Regions from separate parts of the Homo sapiens genome. Here regions 2, 3 and 4 are each linked to region 1. Evidence: promoter capture Hi-C in 16 types of primary human blood cells and fetal thymus (Javierre and others, 2016). All regions are on one chromosome and are shown on one strand. The core of a region is centred on a gene start or on the middle of the fragment in contact, and the rest is flanking DNA. Distances in the headings are between cores, read along the strand shown.

Evidence for each region. The method cuts DNA at HindIII sites, captures the fragments that hold promoters and counts their contacts. A CHiCAGO score of 5 or more calls a contact.
Region 2: the fragment with the promoter of C5orf34 here is called in contact with the fragment with the promoter of NIM1K in region 1 in 12 of 17 cell types (erythroblasts, M1 macrophages, monocytes and 9 more); the score reaches 11.6 in erythroblasts.
Region 3: a fragment that was not itself captured here is called in contact with the fragment with the promoter of NIM1K in region 1 in 1 of 17 cell types (monocytes); the score reaches 5.3 in monocytes.
Region 4: a fragment that was not itself captured here is called in contact with the fragment with the promoter of NIM1K in region 1 in 2 of 17 cell types (monocytes and activated CD4 T cells); the score reaches 5.5 in monocytes.

Annotation. Positions count from the first base shown.
Region 1 is chr5:43,190,725-43,194,602 of GRCh38, reverse strand. It overlaps NIM1K (NIM1 serine/threonine protein kinase), which reads right to left and starts at 2,378. Exons shown (of 4, transcript NM_153361.4): 1 at 2,192-2,378. RefSeq lists an enhancer at 1,353-2,062 and a silencer at 2,398-2,537. The HindIII fragment of the contact is 11,127 bases long and covers 1-3,878 here.
Region 2 is chr5:43,513,757-43,517,621 of GRCh38, reverse strand. It overlaps C5orf34 (chromosome 5 open reading frame 34), which reads left to right and starts at 2,474. Exons shown (of 13, transcript NM_198566.4): 1 at 2,474-2,816. LOC124900190 (a long non-coding RNA gene) reads right to left here. Exons shown (of 3, transcript XR_007058764.1): 2 at 1-3,429. RefSeq lists an enhancer at 2,707-2,866. The HindIII fragment of the contact is 8,167 bases long and covers 1-3,865 here.
Region 3 is chr5:43,558,050-43,561,967 of GRCh38, reverse strand. No RefSeq gene overlaps it. Among named protein-coding and RNA genes, the nearest start is that of PAIP1, 2.9 kb to the right of the region's middle. The HindIII fragment of the contact is 889 bases long and covers 1,978-2,866 here.
Region 4 is chr5:42,905,794-42,909,416 of GRCh38, reverse strand. It overlaps the pseudogene PRELID3BP5. Among named protein-coding and RNA genes, the nearest start is that of FLJ32255, 86 kb to the left of the region's middle. RefSeq lists enhancers at 649-708, 839-888. The HindIII fragment of the contact is 1,271 bases long and covers 1,513-2,783 here.

The DNA.
Region 1 (3,878 bases), core at 1,129-3,628:
AAATTAAACCTTTTCAACTAAAAACCTAGGGTTAAACCAAGAATATAAAGGGCTCTATAACCTATCTGTAGTTATTACTGGGGAATTCAGATTTCATATAAACCTGTCTTTATTTTAAATGTAGTTAGAAAAAAAGCACACACCTCAAACCAAATATCCAATCCACATTTTTTCCTAACACAGAAGGAGGCTTCTCTGAAGGTTTTTCCAGGCTTACCATTTAACAGTGGTCCAGCTAAAAATAAACCCATGAGGGTTTACTAGGCAAATTCAATGGCACACCAAACACCAGTCCATGGGGAGTTGGATTCAGCTTTTTCCCCACTAGCCTCTCGCAGGAATCCCCCCCTACATTCTCCCATCTCCTAATTAGAAAGCTAATTAGGCTTCCAAATGTAAATGCTAAATGGCGAGGGCGATCTGGGCTCAGGCCAGGATTCGTGGAACATCTAACACCCTCCTCTGTCCTCTGTTCGTGCAGTGAGCTGTGGGAAGAGAGCTGGGCAGCATGACTATTTGGGGCCATTTAACTTGCTGGAGGGCAGTGTTTACTCTCATTTGTCTGAGCGGAAAGCTGTGTTGCATGGACTGCAAACTCTGAAAAAATAAAATAAAAAAAACAACAACATGCCTTGGGATTTTAGTACTTTAAGGGAAAAAGTAAGTACATTTTCATAAACTCAATTATTACCATGGTGACAACGAGGGTACAAGAGAAGGTCCTCTGGAGAACAGTTCCTGCTTCTAACTAGACAGCCTCTCAATAGAGCAGGGCGACTTCTTCAGTAACCATGACAACCAGAATTAGAAGTGCTGTTGCAACACTAACAGAAACCATCTTTTGAAGCGGTTCTGTGAATCACATTGAATACTGATGATGCAAGCTAGTGTGATACATACTTTTCAAACATTAAAAAAAATCTTATTACCATAAACAAATATTCACCTTAGATTTCCATTTGAAATCTTGACTTGGAATCACTTTTTTTCATCTGGTTTCGTTTGTTTCCCTTTTGGATTCCCGCGGCCTCAATTGCAAACGCGATTTGTGTAATTTCCAAACTTGTCAGAACTGCACGGGTAAGAGCTTAGAATGTGATTCATTCGCTCTTATTTTGAAACGGGATGAGGAATGGGGTGGGGGAGGGGGGGTAGACAGAGAGCCCTCTTGTCTACTGTACTCAGGAGGACGAAAACAGGGGAGGGAAGGGGAAAAGAGAGGAGAAAGGGAGAAAGGGAGGGAGGGAGGAGGAGAAGAGAAGGGGAGAGGAGGAGGAGGAAAGGAGGGAGGGAGAAGAGGGAAAAGGAGGGAAGGAGGGAAGGAAAAAACAGAAAGGAAAGAAGTGCTATAGCAGAATCTTTGCTGCCCATGTTATCTATTGCCTTGACTTCTCCATCTGCCAAGATGTGTCAAGCACGCAGAAGCTGGCTGGAATCGATATTTTAAAGACCCGGTTGCGATCTTTTCCTGGTCGTATCAAGGAGTCCTGGAGCTTCTAATATTCCTGGAGGGATATCCAGGAAGAGGAAAAGAGGCTCTTCCTTACTTCGTGCGGTCTTCCAAAAGAAGCACCTTTCGCTGGGGAGAGTCGCGGCGTGGGGTGCAATGGAAGGTTTTGTTCTCCTGGGCCACATGCGTTAGATGTCAGTTCTCTCCACCAGCAGCACCGGCCGGCGCGCGTGGGGAGATCACGCCGGTCTTCTGCCCTTGTAACAAACGCTCCAGATTTGGTCTGGTGCCTTAGGGCTCTGGTCCAGCGCACCCGCTGTGCGCAACGCTAGGCGCTAAGCTGCGCTCCTCGGCTCACGTGTGGACGCGCACGCAGACACGAGTGTCCACACCATACAGAGACATGGGTGCACACACGCGCGCACATAGACATGGGCGCCGCACATGACACGGGCACCACACATGACACGGGCACACACGCGCGAGCACGCTCTCGCCCTGGCTCTAATGCCCCCTCCTCTCGCTTGCGGATCGGCCTGGGCAGGTGTGGGGGTACGCCCCAGAAAGCGCCTAACCTTCTTCTGACCCCACTTCGCAGACACCCCGTGGCAGGGCTTCCTTTCTTCCTTGGGTCGCGGGGAGGAGAGGCGCCTCCTCCTCAGCCACCCAGGTCTGCAGCCTAGCAGAGGAAGGGTGGCGGGGTGGGGGTGCTGGCGGCGAGTCCCCCAGCCCCTCGCTTACCTTCGTGGCGAGGCCAGCTCTTGGGCTTCGCTGCACGGCGCCAGGCTAGGCGCGCTGGGTTGTTGCCTCTGGAGCAGGAGCGGTCGGTGTGTGGATGTCCCGAGGTGAGGGCGCCGCTGTCGCGCTTGAGGCTCCCGGAGCTGTCAGGGGCGGCCGACCTGACCGGCAGCGGCCCAGGGCAAACCCCGCCCTCCGGCCTAGGCCGGCTCCGCAGCGGGGACCGAGACGCCCCACAGCGTTTCCTGAAGGACCAATCCGGAGCGAGGGGCTGGCGTGGGGAAGGAGGGACGGGGGGCCTGTAGTGCACCCGGACGCCGGCCTGGACCTTGTAAGCTGGTTTCTATGGCAGCCAGGAGGGAGGGGCGAGAGGGAGGGGACGCGCGGCGCAGGGACACCCAGTGCAGTCGCTCGGGGAGGGGGGTGATTGGGCCTGACGCAAAGAGGACCCCTTCTAGAGTCTGGATGGGAGCAGCTACACGGCCGAAAGCGGGCTGACACAGCTCCCACCGACGTACGCCTCGTGCCGAGCGGTTCCAGCGCTTCAGCAAGGGTTTCCATGTCCTTGGGAAACCGTGACCCAGTAATCCTCCCAACAGAAAGGGGGTTTCCAGCAAACCACCGTGACAGCTCCTCCGGGTGAGTCGGGCAGGGTTTAGGTTCTGCAGAAAGAAGTGCTAATGTCACCCTCTGTCTGGATTCCTGGCATACATCGGTTCCCCTGGTGCCACTTTGTCACTGGCTCCCTAATCTCCTGCTAGGGAGATACTCTCGGCTGTGACCCTCAGATGCCAAAGATTATTTTTCTAGTTTATAAACTAGAAATACCGTCACTGGATTGAACGTAGAGTTGGAAATGGGATTCGCAAAATACTAAATAAAACATACCGGTTATTTACTGAAGTTTAAGCCCTTCCTTTTACAGAGAGAGAAAAAAAAAACTGAGTTCAGAGGGGTCAGTTAACTTAGCAAGGGTCACACAACTGATTAATGGCAGAGCCAGGACTAGACACCCTAAGTCATAGTTCTGCGAGCATTCTTTCTACTTCCTCCTGCTCTCCATCCTGTATTGATTGCCAGAGCAATATTTACAAGAGCAAAACTGTTAAGTAGCAACATAACCCATGTCTACAATTCTTTTATGGTAGAAACTAGGGAACCCCAAAATTCCTTTTTTGCTATTTGCCAGGCATTGTAATAAACTCTTTTACAAAGAGTAACTGATTAAATCCTCATGATAATCTATGGGTTAGGTACTGTTACTGTCATCCTTGTTTTGATAGATGAAGAAACTGAAGCCCAGAGAGGTTACAGGATTTGATCGAGATCACACAACTGTTGAATGCTGGCTCTGGGACTCTAACCCAGTTTGTTTGACTCCAGAGTTGGTGTTCTTCATTACTTTGTCTCTGCTGCCTGTTTGTGTGATGATTAAAGGGGTCAGGAACGGGAAGGGCAAGAAATAAAAACCTTGGACAGCTCCGTGCACTGACGGTTGAGATTGGAAAGAAAATTGAAAGAACCTGAAACAACTGCTTCCTTGGCTTCTGAGAGTGGTCATCTATTTATGTAGAACAAGGGTTCTCTCGAGAAAATTTGTTTTTAAAGAGACATCCCCTCCTCAAAAGACAAGAGGTTTGTTGTTTTTTTTTTTTAAGAGTAATCTTTAAAATAGTACATGCCATCAGTC
Region 2 (3,865 bases), core at 1,225-3,724, 320 kb before region 1:
ACTGATAGCTTTAAACTTTTCTTCAACTCCCTCACCTTTCTCAGCCTTCATAGAATCGAAGAGAGTTAGGGCTTTGTTCTGGATTAGGCTTTGGTTTAAGGGAATGTTGTAGCTGGTTTGATCTTCTATCCAGACCATTCAAACTTCCTCCCTGTCAGTAATAAGGCTGTTTTGGTTTTTCTTATTATTCATGTGTTCACTGGAGTAGTACTTTTAATTTCCTTTAAGAATTTTTTCTTTGTATTCACAACTTGGCTGTTTGACACAAGAGGCTTAGCTTTCAGCCTATCTTAGCTTTCAACATGCCTTCCTTACAGGCTTAATCATGCATTTCTAGGTTATGATTTAAAGTGAGAGACATACAACCCTCTTTTACTTGGACACTTAGAAGCCACTGTAGGGGTATTACTTTGCCTAATTTTGATATTGTTGTGTCTCAAGGAATAGGAAGGCTCTAGGAGAGGGTGAGAGATGAGAGTGGCCAGTGAATACAGCAGCCAGACACACACAATATATATCAATCGACTTGTTACTAGTGGAAGAGATCTGAGTTACCCCAAGTTACCAGCAGCCTATCCTTGCAGGTCCATAGCAACTTCAGTCCTGGCCTCCTCAGAGAAGAAAGAATTTGACTGACAGACATAAAGCAGAAAAGAGACTGAAGCAAGTTCCAGAGTAGGAATGGAGGTTTATTTAAACAGGCATTAGAACAGGAAAGAAAGGAAGGTACGCATGGAAGAGACCCAAGTGGGCATGTGAAGGTTAAAGAGAGAAGGCCAGCCGGGTGCAGTGGCTCACGCCTATAATCCCAGAACTTTGGGAGGCTGAAGCAGGTGGATCATGAGGTCAGGAGTTCAAGACCAGCCTGGCCAAGATGGTGAAACCCTGTCTCTACTAAAAATACAAAAAAATTAGCCGGGTATGGTGGTGGGCGCCTGTAATCCCAGCTACTCGGGGAGGGGGCTGAGGCAGAGAATTGCTTGAACCCGGGAGGCGGAGATTGCAGTGAGCTGAAATCGCGCCACTGCACTGCAGCCTGGGCGACAGAGTGAGACTCCGTCTCAAAAAAAAAAGAAAAAGAAAAGGAGAGAGAGAGAGAGAAGGTCAAGTGCCGCATTTAACCATGATCTTAGGATGGGCTCCCTGCATGCTCAGAGCCCTCTTTACCCTTGGGAAGTGAGCACACACAGTGATTTTATGGATTTATACACATGCCCATCTGAGGCTTTCTTCCTTTTTCCGGTGGAGTGTATCAGAAAAATCATACTTCATCACTTTTGTCTCTTAACCGGCATGCCCAGGAAGTTGCTTCTCTCTGGGGCCTGCATTCAATTAACATTTTGATGTTAACAGGTGTGGGCCATCAGGAAATGGCCTTTCCCTGGCGCTGCCAAATTTTCATTTTTAGAGAGGCCATGTGATAATTGCTGAACCATCACCCAACATTTCTAGTGGGTGGGTGGCAGGGGAGAGCCCTCTCCTGCCTTGCTCATGCCTAACTACCTGTAACAGATTCAGTTCGCCATTTTATAATGTATGAGCATGATCTGTGGTCCCCCAAAACAATTACAGTAGTGACATCAAAGATCAGTGATCACACAGATCACTCTAACAGATACAAAAATAATGAAAAAGTTTGAAATATTGTGGGAATTACCAAAATATGTCAGAGACACAAAGTGAGCACATGATGTTGGAAAAACATGGCACCCATACACTTGCTCCATCAAGGTTGCCTCAAACCTTCCATTTGTAGTAAACTCAGTATCTGCAAAGCACAATAAAATGCACAATAAAACAAGGTATGCCTCTCTATGCTCTCACAAACCTCTGTATTTTATCTTAGAAACACTCACAACTGTAATAAATGATTGTTTATTCTTTCTTTCCAGTTAATCTCTAGCTCTGATCCTCACCCGCAAAGAACTGGGCCACCTTCCCTGCTTTATCCCCACTATGCCTAAACACACAGTGAGTGTTCCATAAACACTTGTTTAGTGGCAATAAATATAGCAGACACATTTATTTGCCACTTTATAAGGAAAAAAGGTGCAGATACATAGACGACCTATTTTCTGATACCAAATTAGGAAGAGTTCTCCATCTTTGGCCAAGTTTTTTTTTTTCTAAACAGCTTTACTGAAGTATAATCGTTTTTTACCTTATTTAAAAATAAGTACCACTCCACTAAAACGCGCTCTGTGGTTAGTTCTCGGCTGGACCGTTCAAAAGGCTGATCCTTACAGCCTTTATTATTAATACAACCAGGTCGGGACTGCTTTTGCGTGGGTCACCAGAAGTAAAAAATCAAAGAGGAGCCAACCCCATTCCGAACAAGGAAACACCCGTCCCCTTCCTACACCAATTCCTGCTCCGCCCTTCGTAGGGAACGCAGCGAGGGCAGCCTCCGGAGTGGAGGGGCGGGACTTCCGGCCCTTCCTGTTGTGGAGGGGCGGGACTTCCTGTCTTCCCTGTTGCGGAGCTCTGAAGCGGCTCCCTGAGGGCGCTGGTTTTGAACTGGTCTTGTGCGGTTTGCGCTTTCTCTTAGTGGTTACAGTTGGCGCTGTCTCCGCTTTCCTGTTTCGTGGCGGGCATCTTGGCCAAAACACTCTCCCTGCCACCTTATTCCTCTAGGGTTGTGATTTTTTTCTTTCACCAAGAAATATCACTCGCTGGTAATTTGTCAAACTGAAGAAACCCCTGAAGAAGCAGTGGTGGGCAGGCGCCGACGCTGCGGCTTCCAGAGCATTTTGGCAAATCAAAGCCAGGGACCGTTGCTGGGCCTCATTTCCGCAACTTTTCGGCTCCGAACTGCTGTGAGTGGAAGACTTTTGGTGGTTGTTTTGATCAGGCTCCTTCTGTAACTAGAGACTATAGCATTTTGAAAGAAATGAGATTCTCATTCATGTCAAGAACAGACTTGTGGATTTTTGAGTGTTAAACATACCCTGACGTAATGTGCTGGGTGATGAGAACGCAAGCGGGAATGAGACTGTAGAGATGAGAATGGCAGTGTGGGTTGGAGCCGGGTTATGGTTTCCTATGGTATGCCAAGAACCTTAGTCATTACACTGTTTGTTGTGTATGCTTGATTATTTAAAATTAGAAAACCGCCTCAGTAAAGCTATTAAAAAAAAGACCTGACCAAAGATAGACTATTTTTCCCAAATTGGAATCAGAAAATGTCTTCCATCTATGTATCAGCACCCGTTTTTTCCCCTAAAATACCAAGTAGACATACCCGATATATACGTGTGTGTTTATATATATATCTGTAATCTATATTGCCATTTGATAAGTACGTAAACAGGTGATGTAAAGCACTTGGTATGGTGTGACTTGTGGAAAGTTACCTATGTCATCAATACTAGAGATGGATTGGAGAGAGAAGAAATTCCAGACAGTTGCAGGAGTTGGAGAGTCTATGGCCTGAAAAAGAGAAAGAGGTAGAGAGAGTCAGGTTCCAAAGACAGAAAATCAACAGGACTTGTTACAGGGGCATGGAGTGGAAAGTCAAGTTTTAGAATATTGGCTGCTAACAATGAGACACCATTAATTCAAATTGCAAATTCAAGAGGAGCAGTTTACTTATTTTTCATCATTCAAATATTTATTGTGCCATTTACTATTTGCCTAATACTGTTTTAGATGCCAGAGATACTGTTACATATAAGACAGATAAGGCCCCTGCTTCGGTTGACTTTATATCCTAGTGGGAGAAAATAAAAAGCAAGTAAATAATCAATTTTGATGATAGATTCTATGAAGAAAAAACTTGAAGAGGGATGACAAATGATTGGGAGATGTTTGGGAGTAACTTTAACTTAGTTGGTCGTTGGGCCCTTGTAGGAGTTACATTTGTGCT
Region 3 (3,918 bases), core at 1,173-3,672, 370 kb before region 1:
ATTCACATGCAATTGTAAGAAATAATACAGAGAGAACTTGTTTACTCTTCACCTTGTTTCCCCCAATAGTAACATCTTGTATAACTATAAGTGATACAGTTCACCAACCTTAGTTTTATATGCACATGTGTGTATGTGTGTGTATGTGTGCACACTTATTTCTATGCAATGTTATCACATGTATAGACTTATGTGACCATCATTATAGTAAAGAACAAAATAGTTCCATCACAAGGTTTTTCTCATGCTACCTACTTTTTTAATAACCCCATCTACTTGCCTCTAAATTCCACTCCCTCCTTAACCCCTGGCAACCACAAATCTGCTCTCCATCTTCATAATTTTGTCATAAATTGAATCATACAATTGCTCTTGAGATTGAAATTTTGTGTTCAGCATAATTCCCTTGAGATCCATCAACATTCTTATATGAGCAGTTGTTCCTTTTTTTTGCTGAGTAGCATTCTGTGGTATGAATGTACCACAGTTTAACTATTCATCAAAGGATATTTGGGTTCTTTCTAATTTGGGGCTCTTATTAATGATGCCACTCTAAATATTTGGGTACAGGATTTTATGTGAATATAAATCTTAATTCTCTGTGAGAAATGTCCAGCAGTGCAATTGCTAGGTAGTACAGTACTTAATATGTAGAGTTTTTTAAAGAAACTGTTTTCTAAAGTGACTATAGCATTTTACATTCTCACCAGCAATGTATGAGCAACACAGTTCCTAGTTTCTCTACATCCTTGAATTTGCATTGTCACTATTGTTTATTTAAGCTATTCGAATAAGTAGGTAGTGAAATCTCAGTGGTTTTAAAAAAATTTTCCTACTGGCTAATTATGTTGAACATTTTTCATAGGCTTATGCTATCTGTATATTCCCTTCAGTGAAGTGTTCTTTCATTTATGTTTGGCCCTTTTCTAACTGAACTGTCCTTTTACAGTTGAGTTAGGTGTTTTGTTTGTTTGGGTTTTTTTCAGACGGAGTCACGCTCAACCCAGGCTGGAGTGCAGTGGTGCAATCTCGGCTCACTGCAACCTCTGCCTCCCGGGTTCAAGCGATTCCCCTGCCTCAGCCTCCCAAGTAGCTGGGATTACAAGCACGCATCACCATGCCTGCTAATTTTTGTATTTTTAGTAGAGACGGGGTTTCACATGTTGTCCAGGTTGGTCTCGAACTCCTGACCTCAGGTAATCTGTCCGCCTCAGCCTCCCATAGTGCTGGGATCGCACCTGGCTATAGTACTCTCAATACAGTTGAGTTCTGAGAGTACTTTATATATTCTAGATACAAGTCTTTTGTCAAATATGTGGTGCCTTCATCCATTTTTGTTGCTATAAAGGAATAGCTGAGGCTGGGTAATTTATAAAGAAAAGGGTTTCATTTGGCTCACTATTCTGCAGGCTGTACTAGAAGCATGGCACCAACATCTGCTTCTGGTGAGGGCTTCAGCCTGCTTCTATGCATGGCAGAAAGTGAAGGGGAGACAGTGTGCAGAGATTACATGGCAAGAGAGGAAGCATGAGACAGGGGGAGTGTGCCAGGCTCTTTTCAACAACCAGCTCTTGGGGAAACTCCTTGGGAACTAGTAAAACCATAACTCATTCGTTACTGTGAGAATGGCACCATGCCATTCATGAGGAATCTGCCACCATGACCCAAACGCCTTCCATTAGGCCCCACCTCCAACATTCAGGATCAAGTTTCAACAGGAGGCTTGGAGGGTCAAATATACAAACTATACCATGTGGTTTGCAAATATTTCCTCTTGCATATTTATGAAAATTTTCTCCTGTTAGCTGGCCTTGAAGGCTGTACTGTCTACTCCCATAAGGTCTAATGATGATCCTGAGGTCAATAAGTTCTAAAAAAACAGTCTTTTTTTTTTTTTTTTTTTTTTTACCATCACTAGACTGGTGACCTAAGGAAAGGCAGGACCATTGCAGGTGAGTCCTATTTCTGTTAAAAGCTTATTATGGACTAAGTACTGGGTTGGACCTAAAGGATTAAAAGGCATCCTCTGTCTTCAGAGGGCTAGTTTAGGGAAGGAGACATTTAAATAAACCAAATACTAACGATAACAATCTGGCATGCTAAGTACCAAGACAGTTTTCCCAGGGTATACTTATCACAAGGGAGAGAATCTAAGATTAGGCAGCTTGGGAAGTCTTACTGGAGAATGCCTTTCAAGTACAGTTTAAGGAAACATTTTTTTCATAGTTCACAGCAGGTCCTTTTCCATATTACAACATATTTTCCAATTTGTCCAAATTTAGTTCTACTCTCCTTTCACCATAAATTAATAAAAAAGGCATACACGTGGATGAGGAGCACTTTGATGATTCTCTTTAGGGAGTTCCACATGGTGTTCACACGTTCATGTGTTTCTGTCTATGCATTTTGCAATACCTGCCAGTTAGCTCTAAAACAGTCCCAAGATGGATCTGAGCCCTTGCGGTATCTTGGCACCTTTTATGTAAAGTGAAAATATTGGAATGTCTATCTCACAGGATATGAGGATAAAATAAAATGATAAAATAAAAGCTCTTAAAAGGTGACTGACGCATAATAAATATTAGATATTTTTATTATCATGATGCAAAATCCATTCGTGTTATCTCCAAGTCCACCATCCACACATTATAAGAATAGGGCAAAAGTTATACAGTAACAAATACAGAGAAGGCAAAGGATATCTTACCTAATTTTCCTAACAAGAGGGTGTGAAGATGTCGTGACATCACCATGGATGCAGAATGGCCTTATCTTCACATGGGAAAGTCCCAGTTGTTAGAAAAGGTGCTGTTCATCATAAAAGTTTTAAGGGGAAATGAAAAGGTGGTGAGTGCAAACAAAAGCTTGGGGCAGAGTTGGGGCATCTACTTCAGTGGAACATAACTCATTGTTAGTTTTTTAGCATAGTTTATGGGTCTTTCCTGTATGATAAAAAAGTCCAGGCAAGAAGTGACTGGTGACCACATACAATAATGAATTTGAAAATATTAAAATTGTAATTTTTAAATTGTAATCTTGTCTCTGCAATATATGCTGAGTGTTACCACACAGTTATTATTTTACAGATGAGGAAAGTGAGGCTCAGAGAAGCTAAACCCCTTACTTACTCAAAATCACACAGACAGCAATAGTCAAGAGTGGAATCCCAACTAAGCTCTGGCAGACTGAATCCTAAACTTTCCGTACACCGAAGAGCCACACGTACTGCTGGCTTCCTTCCCTGACTTCATTATTTTGCCTAACATCAATAGCATGAACCATTTATTCATGATTGCCCTCGGTGAAGCCATTTTCTCATTCGTTTAGGGGAAGACATTGTTTTCTTTATTAATGAGAAGAGAAAACGGTTAACAAGAGTTTGTGTCCCTAATTGAAATGATTCTTAAGATGAAAAGATAGAAAAACATGAAACCCTGCTTAAAACAAAAGGCTAAAATCAGAATTTATGGAGATGGATCAATCCAACAGTAAAGAAATCAATTTTTCCTTCCTTGTCGTTACTTATATTCATCTATCCTTTATTTGGCATTAATACTGTCAGGCCTGACAAAAACAACAATTTACATATTAATAAAATCTAGAATTGTGCTGTGCAACGCAGTAGCCACTAGCCACATGTGGCTCTTGAGCCCTTGAAATGTGCCAATCCCGACTAAGATGTGCCATAAGTGTAAAATATACACTGGATTTCAACTAGTATCTAAAAAACAGAGAAAATATTTAATATTTTAAATCGCATGTTAAAAAACCATTTTGAACATAATGGATTAAATAAATTTAAATTAATTTCACCTGGTTTTTGTTTTGTTTTGTTTTGTTTTTTGAGACAGAGTTTGGCTCTTGTTGCCCAGGCTGGAGTGCAACGGTACGATCTCGGCTCACTGCAACCTCTGCCTC
Region 4 (3,623 bases), core at 899-3,398, 280 kb after region 1:
GCTTTTTCTTTTTCTTTTGAGTCTTATTATTATTTAAGATGGGGGTCTCGCTGGGTCGCCTAGGCCGGTGTGCAGTGGCGTGATCAGGCTTTAGTCTAAATTCCAGGGGCCTTTGAGGAGCTGTGGATACTAACAGGGTGGGAGGGGACAGCTGGGTGGATCATATGCTGGAGTTGCTTTGAAACTGACTGTGGCCCTCCAAATAAAGGCAGAAAACAGGCATTAGCACTGTTCTTTAAATCAGGGGTCCCCAATCCCCCCCACCACGGACCGGTTAGGAACCCGGCCCCAAAGCAGGAGCTGAGCAGTGGGCAAGCGAGCATTACTGGCTGAGCTCCGCCTAGCGTCAGATCTGCTGCATTAAATTCTCACAGGAGTGCGAACCCTATTGTGAACTGCGCATGCGCAGGACCAAGACTAGCTTTTGCTCTCCTTTTGAGAATCTATTGCGTGCCTGATTATTTGATTTCTAACACCTTCATCCCGAAACCATCCCCACACCCCTCTCCATCCGTAGAAAAATTGTATTCCACTAAACTGGTCCCTGGTGCCAAAAACGTTGCGGATCTCTGCTTTAAATGGTTTAAATGTTACATTGTAACGAAGAGTGGAGGACCGCCTCACTTGGAGCCGACGGCACCTGCGCACAGCGAAGCTGGTTGAAGGGCCCCCGACGGGGTGGGACAGGTGTAGCCTCCTCACCTCATTTTCCCCTGCGCTTCACAGACATCTAGCAGACTGCCTGCACCATCAAGATCTGGACTGCAGAGCACGTCTTTCACCACCCGTGGGAAACTGTTACAACAGCTGCAATGCACAAATACCCAAGCCCTGCGAACCTGAGCAGGGTGTGGGTTGATGTGTTGGAAGGATATATAGATCCCTCTGGAAAGTTGCAAGGCCACAGACTTCTCTGCACAGAGTGGGAACTGCAAGTCCCTTACTGTTGCAGCAAGAGCCAAAACATAGTCTTCAGGACCCAGAAAAAAAACTATTTTGACTCAAGAAACCACAATCATTGTGAAAAGAATCAGCCTCAGCAGTTACCTTGAAGAACTGAAGACAAGTACAATATCTTCAAATGCTAATAAAGGCTGAGAAGCACTGGAATGGGTAATACTTAAACTACATGTTAAGATTGAGAAATTGCTGGCTTCAAAAAGAGGAAGCATAAGAACTCGGATAGTAGCAGCATCATTTACAGAGAAATGATAATGGATGTTGGAAGACATCAAGTACCCCAGGTGTCTCCAACCTTGCAATCTGTTATTTTAAAACCGTATCTTAGGTAGAATTTTTAAAAAATAGACTGATAGAAGACTTTGTGACATGGAATAAAAACAAAGAGGTTCAGGGTGTCTAAATAAAAGGGATCATCTAAAATAAGTGTTGTTTGAAATGATTGTCTAATTTTGAGAGTTCCAGTATTTATGTGAAAATTTAAAAATTTTTCAAAAAGTACTTGGCAGTTTGCATTGACATTGAATCATTTTGAGGTAGAATTTTAAAGCTTTTAACACCTGGGAACACTACCTGACTTTGGTGGAACTTCAGAACAAAGCAGAGCCACCTCTTATATACACACAATTGCCCTGCTGCCATAAACTTCAACAGCTTGCATAAGGAACTTCACTTTAAAAGGAGAAATTGCTCAGTTTTAAATGATATTAATGTGTATAAAATAACTTGCTCTGCTATAAACCACCATTAAAAACCAGTGTTTTGGTTTAGTACTTGAATATTTTTGGAGTAAAAATTATCCCTAAAGTAGTATATGACTCCCAGAAACATATGCTTTTATTATAATAAAAAGTAATATATTGATTTGTCAAAGTTTTATAACATAGTAAAGGTATTACCTTCCTTGGATTTGTACTTTATGCTTTAATATGCTGTACCATGAGCTGGCTACATTAATTGGAAAAATAAATTCATTACTTGAAAAACAAAAGAGAAAATGAAGAGTGGGGATAGACTAACGGGGACTGAAAGAAGATCCCTAGCCTTGTGCCTTCTGAGTTAACAACCACAGGGTTCCAGAGCATCAACTCCAGATCAGACAATTCCAGGCAGCTACAGATGTCTGCCTTGGTGAGTCTTGCCCAGGATCTGGAAGTCCAAGATGAAAGCGCCAGTGATTCAGCTCCTGGTGAGGGCTGTCTTCCTGTCATGCCAATGGCCATGTTGTAGCTGTGTTCTCACATGGCACAGAAGGAGAGAGAGAAGTGGGTAGAGGGGCAAGAGAAGAAAGGGAGAGAAGGAGAGGGACCTGGTATCTCTTCCTCTTCTCATAAGGGCACTAATCCCATTATGAAACCCCAACCCTCATGACCTCATCTAAACTTAATTGTCTCCCAAAGGCCCCATCTCCAAATACCATCACTTGGAGATTAGTTAATCAAAATTATCATGAATTTTGGGGGAACACAATTCAGTGCAGAACACCAAGTGTATGGGAGGCTCTCATAATCTCTGCCCATCTCAGGTCCTGCAGCAACTAAGACTCATTCCTTCTTGTGGGCATCCCAGGAGAAAGATTTATGTGTCTTCACAACTTTAGTGTAAAGATTTGGTGTAAAGGTTTCCAGCCTTTACACCAAAATCCTTGGGCAGAGATGAAAAACATGCAGTAGAGAATACACTTGGGACTTTTACACTTTTCTGTCCCCTCAAATGTTAGAAATCAAAACCCATAAACTAGATGACAGCATTAATCTAGTCTAGCTGTGATTACATCAATCTTTTCACATAGTGGCAGTTCTAAGTATCAGTATAGAGAAGCTTAGATGTTGCATCTTATTGGAACGTGGAACTAGAGCTGTGTTTGCTTTGCACTCATTATTAGACTAATTACATGTCAATTATCCATGTCATAAAAAATAAGCAGATGGTGAAAGATGAGTTAGAGTGTTTTTGTGGTTTGGATATGGAGGGGGCTTCCCATCTTATCATCCTCATTTTCTGTTCTGAAGTCTCAAAATCTACTTAAAAAAAAATAAAACCACAATCCCAATCCTCTGATAACCCATTATTCCATTAACCAATTAACCGTTAATCCATAAATGGATTAAGACATCAAACGGGCAGAGCCCTCAAGACCCAATCACTGCTTAAAGGCCCTACCTCTCAATATTGCTACATTGGGGATTAAGTTTCAACATGAGTTTCAGAAGGGACAAATATTCAAACCACAACATCCCTGAATGGCAATTAATTGTAAAGAGAAATTAATTGTTATCTTAGATGACATGATCGTGATTTCAATTTGAAACCTTTTGAAGGTCTAGGGGATAAAGGGACTATGAATGCAGCCCTGGCTTTGGCTCCCTCAGGGTGGCCTCTGTGTGCAACACCCAGGTTAGATTATCTGCTAAGATTTCCTCTGGGCTGGCCAATCTGAAAGCAATATGGAATTGTGTAATCCAAGGGCTCCTGAACACAAGGGAAAAGGTGTTTCATCCAGTCTCACAGCAGGAGACATCAGCTTTTGAGTTTTTACACTTTTCTGGCCAAGTGCCTGGTCCTAATCAGATCATAGGAAGCATAGTGGTGATATTAATTCTAGAAGCAAATTGTAACAGAAGATGGAATTACTGGTATTAACATAAAACCCTAACATCTTA